Linked DNA regions of Homo sapiens: region 1 is linked to region 2. The links are contacts of gene promoters, found by promoter capture Hi-C in blood cells and fetal thymus (Javierre and others, 2016). All regions are on one chromosome and are shown on one strand. Each heading gives the region's core, a stretch centred on a gene start or on the middle of the fragment in contact. The rest is flanking DNA. Distances are from core to core; before and after follow the strand shown. Region 1 overlaps EEF1A1 (eukaryotic translation elongation factor 1 alpha 1). Region 2 holds the start of UBE3D (ubiquitin protein ligase E3D).

Evidence for each region. Contacts are between HindIII fragments. The CHiCAGO score rates a contact against its expected background, and 5 or more counts as called.
Region 1: a contact is called between a fragment that was not itself captured here and the fragment with the promoter of UBE3D in region 2, in 1 of 17 cell types (total CD4 T cells). The highest score is 6.1, in total CD4 T cells.

The regions. Positions count from the first base shown.
Region 1 is chr6:73,515,361-73,519,110 of GRCh38, reverse strand. It overlaps EEF1A1 (eukaryotic translation elongation factor 1 alpha 1), which reads left to right. Exons shown (of 8, transcript NM_001402.6): 4 at 1-179; 5 at 263-413; 6 at 501-757; 7 at 847-1,081; 8 at 1,177-3,361. The coding sequence ends at 1,301. Among named protein-coding and RNA genes, the nearest start is that of EEF1A1, 3.8 kb to the left of the region's middle. RefSeq lists a silencer at 3,491-3,750. The HindIII fragment of the contact is 197 bases long and covers 1,877-2,073 here.
Region 2 is chr6:83,063,582-83,067,298 of GRCh38, reverse strand. UBE3D (ubiquitin protein ligase E3D) reads left to right here and starts at 1,458. Exons shown (of 10, transcript NM_198920.3): 1 at 1,458-1,657. The coding sequence starts at 1,581. The HindIII fragment of the contact is 10,412 bases long and covers 1-1,802 here.

The sequences.
Region 1 (3,750 bases), core at 726-3,225, 9.5 Mb after region 2:
TAATTGTCGGTGTTAACAAAATGGATTCCACTGAGCCACCCTACAGCCAGAAGAGATATGAGGAAATTGTTAAGGAAGTCAGCACTTACATTAAGAAAATTGGCTACAACCCCGACACAGTAGCATTTGTGCCAATTTCTGGTTGGAATGGTGACAACATGCTGGAGCCAAGTGCTAACGTAAGTGGCTTTCAAGACCATTGTTAAAAAGCTCTGGGAATGGCGATTTCATGCTTACACAAATTGGCATGCTTGTGTTTCAGATGCCTTGGTTCAAGGGATGGAAAGTCACCCGTAAGGATGGCAATGCCAGTGGAACCACGCTGCTTGAGGCTCTGGACTGCATCCTACCACCAACTCGTCCAACTGACAAGCCCTTGCGCCTGCCTCTCCAGGATGTCTACAAAATTGGTGGTAAGTTGGCTGTAAACAAAGTTGAATTTGAGTTGATAGAGTACTGTCTGCCTTCATAGGTATTTAGTATGCTGTAAATATTTTTAGGTATTGGTACTGTTCCTGTTGGCCGAGTGGAGACTGGTGTTCTCAAACCCGGTATGGTGGTCACCTTTGCTCCAGTCAACGTTACAACGGAAGTAAAATCTGTCGAAATGCACCATGAAGCTTTGAGTGAAGCTCTTCCTGGGGACAATGTGGGCTTCAATGTCAAGAATGTGTCTGTCAAGGATGTTCGTCGTGGCAACGTTGCTGGTGACAGCAAAAATGACCCACCAATGGAAGCAGCTGGCTTCACTGCTCAGGTAACAATTTAAAGTAACATTAACTTATTGCAGAGGCTAAAGTCATTTGAGACTTTGGATTTGCACTGAATGCAAATCTTTTTTCCAAGGTGATTATCCTGAACCATCCAGGCCAAATAAGCGCCGGCTATGCCCCTGTATTGGATTGCCACACGGCTCACATTGCATGCAAGTTTGCTGAGCTGAAGGAAAAGATTGATCGCCGTTCTGGTAAAAAGCTGGAAGATGGCCCTAAATTCTTGAAGTCTGGTGATGCTGCCATTGTTGATATGGTTCCTGGCAAGCCCATGTGTGTTGAGAGCTTCTCAGACTATCCACCTTTGGGTAAGGATGACTACTTAAATGTAAAAAAGTTGTGTTAAAGATGAAAAATACAACTGAACAGTACTTTGGGTAATAATTAACTTTTTTTTTAATAGGTCGCTTTGCTGTTCGTGATATGAGACAGACAGTTGCGGTGGGTGTCATCAAAGCAGTGGACAAGAAGGCTGCTGGAGCTGGCAAGGTCACCAAGTCTGCCCAGAAAGCTCAGAAGGCTAAATGAATATTATCCCTAATACCTGCCACCCCACTCTTAATCAGTGGTGGAAGAACGGTCTCAGAACTGTTTGTTTCAATTGGCCATTTAAGTTTAGTAGTAAAAGACTGGTTAATGATAACAATGCATCGTAAAACCTTCAGAAGGAAAGGAGAATGTTTTGTGGACCACTTTGGTTTTCTTTTTTGCGTGTGGCAGTTTTAAGTTATTAGTTTTTAAAATCAGTACTTTTTAATGGAAACAACTTGACCAAAAATTTGTCACAGAATTTTGAGACCCATTAAAAAAGTTAAATGAGAAACCTGTGTGTTCCTTTGGTCAACACCGAGACATTTAGGTGAAAGACATCTAATTCTGGTTTTACGAATCTGGAAACTTCTTGAAAATGTAATTCTTGAGTTAACACTTCTGGGTGGAGAATAGGGTTGTTTTCCCCCCACATAATTGGAAGGGGAAGGAATATCATTTAAAGCTATGGGAGGGTTGCTTTGATTACAACACTGGAGAGAAATGCAGCATGTTGCTGATTGCCTGTCACTAAAACAGGCCAAAAACTGAGTCCTTGTGTTGCATAGAAAGCTTCATGTTGCTAAACCAATGTTAAGTGAATCTTTGGAAACAAAATGTTTCCAAATTACTGGGATGTGCATGTTGAAACGTGGGTTAAAATGACTGGGCAGTGAAAGTTGACTATTTGCCATGACATAAGAAATAAGTGTAGTGGCTAGTGTACACCCTATGAGTGGAAGGGTCCATTTTGAAGTCAGTGGAGTAAGCTTTATGCCAGTTTGATGGTTTCACAAGTTCTATTGAGTGCTATTCAGAATAGGAACAAGGTTCTAATAGAAAAAGATGGCAATTTGAAGTAGCTATAAAATTAGACTAATCTACATTGCTTTTCTCCTGCAGAGTCTAATACCTTTTATGCTTTGATAATTAGCAGTTTGTCTACTTGGTCACTAGGAATGAAACTACATGGTAATAGGCTTAACAGGTGTAATAGCCCACTTACTCCTGAATCTTTAAGCATTTGTGCATTTGAAAAATGCTTTTCGCGATCTTCCTGCTGGGATTACAGGCATGAGCCACTGTGCCTGACCTCCCATATGTAAAAGTGTCTAAAGGTTTTTTTTTGGTTATAAAAGGAAAATTTTTGCTTAAGTTTGAAGGATAGGTAAAATTAAAGGACATGCTTTCTGTTTGTGTGATGGTTTTTAAAAATTTTTTTTAAGATGGAGTTCTTGTTGCCCAGGCTAGAATGCAATGGCAAAATCTCACTGCAATCTCCTCCTCCTGGGTTCAAGCAATTCTCCTACTTCAGCCTCCCAAGTAGCTGGGATTACAGGCATGTGCTAATTTGGTGTTTTTAATAGAGATGAGGTTTTTCCATGTTGGTCAGGCTGGTCTCAAACTCCTGACCTTAGGTGATCGCCTCGGCCTCCTAAAGTGCTGGAATTACAGGCATGAGCCACCATGCCTGGCCAGGACATGTGTTCTTAAGGACATGCTAAGCAGGAGTTAAAGCAGCCCAAGAGATAAGGCCTCTTAAAGTGACTGGCAATGTGTATTGCTCAAGATTCAAAGGTACTTGAATTGGCCATAGACAAGTCTGTAATGAAGTGTTATCGTTTTCCCTCATCTGAGTCTGAATTAGATAAAATGCCTTCCCATCAGCCAGTGCTCTGAGGTATCAAGTCTAAATTGAACTAGAGATTTTTGTCCTTAGTTTCTTTGCTATCTAATGTTTACACAAGTAAATAGTCTAAGATTTGCTGGATGACAGAAAAAACAGGTAAGGCCTTTAATAGATGGCCAATAGATGCCCTGATAATGAAAGTTGACACCTGTAAGATTTACCAGTAGAGAATTCTTGACATGCAAGGAAGCAAGATTTAACTGAAAAATTGTTCCCACTGGAAGCAGGAATGAGTCAGTTTACTTGCATATACTGAGATTGAGATTAACTTCCTGTGAAACCCAGTGTCTTAGACAACTGTGGCTTGAGCACCACCTGCTGGTATTCATTACAAACTTGCTCACTACAATAAATGAATTTTAAGCTTTAAGATGAAGTGGCATTTCTTTTAACAGTTACTATGTTGGAATTGGTTACAAATTTTGGAGTGGATTTCAAAAGTGAGAGCTAACTTCAGTTGATTTCAAGGTAGTGCTTGGCTTTTTTTGTTTAGACAGGGTTTTACTCCTGCCCTGGTTGGAGTGGAAGTTAACGGCTAACTGCAGTCCTGACTTCTGGGCTTAAGTGATCTTCCCTGAATAGCAGGGACCACAGGTTTTTGCCACCACGCCTGGCTAATTTTTGTATTTTGCCATGTTGCCAAGGCTGGTCAACTCCTGGGCTCAAGTGATCTGCCTGTACTGTATCTTTCCCAGTTAATCTGATATTTATCTTTTAAATCTCAGATGTGCCAGGGCCTCGGCAGTGACTCAAGGAAGA
Region 2 (3,717 bases), core at 209-2,708:
GTTTTGCCAACACCATACCGTAAAAAAATGAAAGTTTTTACAAATACGTAACTAAATATATAAAAATCTTTTAAGCTAACAAAACAATTATAAAGAGTAAGTTGTGCTACGGAAGTTGTATATTTCAATATAATGTGTCAATATTTAAGCATTCAATAGCCTCGGGTACTAAAGGTGGAAGATATGAAGAGTTGAAATCATCATCCTTCAAATAGATGAATTATTTGAGACCAAATAATAGTAAACTTTATTTTTTTAAGTGAGTTGTTGCTTCCATCTATAACTTCAAATTATTGTGATAGATATAATAATTTGTGCATCAACATAATAAACTTTAATCACCCCAAATACTGATTTTAGAAAAATTGTCAAGCTATTATCTTAAAATATATGACAGGATTTATTTATTTAGAATTTATTTATGGTTTAGGCTGGGCATGGTGGCTCACACCTGTAATCTCAGCACTTTGGGAGGCCAAGGTGGGCGGATCTACCAAAAACAGAAAAATTAGCCGGGCATGGTGGCGCGTGCGCCTGTAATCCCAGCTACTCGGGAGGCTGAAGCAGGAGAATCGCTTGAACCCAGGAGGCAGAGGTTGCAGTGAGCCGAGATCGCGCCACTGCACTCCAGCCTTGGCGACAGAGCGAGACTCCGAAAAAAAATAAATAAATAAAAGCAGCTCCTTGTTTTTAAGAAGCCCTATTGTAATTCTACCCGGTCTTATATTTTAATAGTTCTTCATTATAAGTATTTACATTATACCAGGTTCTTTACTGTGTCAAACTTTTCAAAACTATCTTCTGGTAGTAAACTTCTCCAACTTCTCTTAGTTTTTACTTTTGTGAAAGTGAATAGTGGAGCTGTACATACGTAATCATTCTCATCTTCCTTTTTTACCCCCTAAAAAATGGTTAGTCCTGATAGACTTCAGCCACACTCTTCTGCATTAGGTAACAAAGAACTTCCTTATATTTTTGCACCTGTTTCAATTTTGGAGCTATCCTGTCTAAGTTGAGAAGCAATGGCAAGTCAATTCTTGAAAATTTTGTCGCTTTAGATAGAGGCTAACAAACGACCCTTGTTCATAAAGAGACCAAGATAAAGTGGGTTTGGGGCCGGGAATTCTGTTCTTGCATCTCCTGGGGACAAAGCCCACCTGTAACACTTGCCTCCATCATCTCCCTCCCTTCGAGCTAGCCAAAGGTGTGAACCCTGGGTCTGATTTTTATGGTCATTTCCAGGGATGCTAACGCGCCAAGTCACGCTCATAAGAAGCAGAGTGGGGCGATAGCTAGCCTCTCGCCGCCCACCTTTCTCAGCACTCTGGGCCAAAGCCTGGTTTTGAAAATGCGCGCCCCGCCCCGGCCTCCGGGGTCACGCGCCTTCTCGGTGGTGCACTCTCCGGCCGGCAGGTGGCGCTGTGAGCTGGTAGGCGGCGCCAGCCCTGCGATCTGGCACAGGCGCCTGCGCCGCAGCGGGGCTGCCGCTGGTTGGTCCGCACGTGGAACCTCTCCTGGTCCTGTTGACCCGGGCCCCTCGGAACCTCCAGCTTGGTCCGGTCTGGGACTGGAAGCCTGCCATGGCGGCTTCTGCGGCGGAGACGCGCGTGTTTCTGGAGGTGCGGGGACAGCTGCAGAGCGCGCTTCTGATCCTGGGGTAAGAACTGGGATTCTAGGCGCAGTGCCCAGCTCGCTTTACTGCTGCCCGGGGGTCGGGGGCTGGTGAGTCTCTCTCTGTACGAGGGATTTTGAGTTTCTTCTTTCCAGTTGCGTAGAGCCTCTCGATCACTCAAAGTGAAGCTTTCCCCTGTAGTCGGCTCCGCCACTCCCACCCCTACTGACAGTGTGGGTATCTTTGGGGAGCTTTTTAGAAATTCAGGGTCTCAGCTCCACACCAGACTTATGGAATCAAAACTTATATTTTAACAAGATTTCCAGGAATCAAATGCACATTAAAATTTGAGGAACAGTGATGTAAAACACTGTTGGCAGTGCCCGGCGTTTCCAACAAAACAATGCAAAAAATGATTTGTCTGTCTCTCTTCGGGATCCTCCTTACTGGATCAGTTCCTATGTGAGCTTCTTGTTTTGTAAATAACCTCGGGTCTTTTCGTCCAAAACTGCTCTTTGCAGAGAAACCACACAATCATTCAATAAACGTGAGTTTAGTGAACCACTAAGACAGGTTGTAGACTTCTTACTGGAGCTCGTTCATTTATTCATATTCTTCCTTCCAGTGAGAACGTCAAACTTGTTATTCGCTACACAAATAACTTTTAGGAAAAATGTTCTCTATTTTGTTTGACAGCAGTTTTAATGATTTGTGGTCCCCTTGTCTATTCCTTTGTGATCGCTGTTTCAAAGAGAGTAAGTTAGAAGTTAAAATCCTGAGAATGGTATTACACGGTGCCACAGGTAGATTGATGCTTAATTTTTTCCTCTTCCCTAAATCTGCCAGATATCTGGTGTGGCAATTTGGAATATGGCGTGAGAACTGAGTTCAAATGCTAGCTTCCTCACGAAATTAGAATAATTTAATCTGAATTTCTTCAATCTTGAAATGGGAATAATAGTACTCTGAATGTATTTCTTTTTCTCTTTCAAAATTTATGAATTTGGACAAATATCTCCAATTCTGGTGCACCTTGTAGAGTAATTAGGAACCCAAACCCTACCAAAATAAAACAAAAACCACACACACACAACAAACCCTCCCTTCCTCTCATGCAGGGGCCTTTCACAGTTCCCTTGGACTACTCTCCTTTGTTTAGGCAAGGTACCCGGGTGGCTCATGCCTGTAATCCCAGCACATTGGGAGGCTGAGGCGGGCGGATCACGAGGTCAAGAGATCAAGACCATCCTGGCCAACATGGTGAAACCCTGTCTCTACTAAAAATACAAAAATTAGCTGGGTGTGGTGGCGCGCACCTTTAGTCAGTCCCAGCTACTCAGGAGGCTGAGGCAGGAGAATGGAGTGAACCCGGGAGGCGGAGGTTGCAGTGAGCTGAGATCGCGCCACTGCAGTTCAGCCTGGCAACAGAAAGAGACTCCGTCTCAAAAAATAAAAAATAAAAAGAAAAAAAAAGAAACCTAACTTTGCTGGACTTAGTTTTGCCATTTCTTGAACTACTTATAAATGGATTCATACAATATATACTTTTTTGTTTCTGGCTGCATTCCTTCCATAATATTTTTCAGATTCACGTTCCATCTATGTGGCTGCATATATCAGTAGTCCATTCCTTTTTCTTGCTAAGTTTTCCATTGTATGAATATACCACAATTCATTTATCTGTTCTCCTATTGCTGGATGTTTTTCTTGTTTCTGGAGTTTGCTTATTATGAATACAGCTGTCATAACACTGTTGTATAAATCTTTTTTTGGACATACATTTTCATTTCTTTTTAGGTAAGTACCTAAGAGTGAAATTTCTGGGTCATAGGATAGATGTGCATGTTACTTTGTGAGAAATTGCCAAACAGTTCTCCAAAGTGATTGTACCAGTTTGCACGTTCAACCAGAAAAAAAATGAGTTTCAACTACTTTACATTTTGACTTACATTTAGTATTATCAGTCCTTTTAGTTTGAACCATTCTAGTGTGTGTAAAATAGTATCTTGTGGTTTTAATTTTCATTTTACCGATGACTAATAATGTTGAGTGCCTTTTCACTTGCTTTTTAGCAATTCATATATGTTCTTTTTAAAAGTATCTTC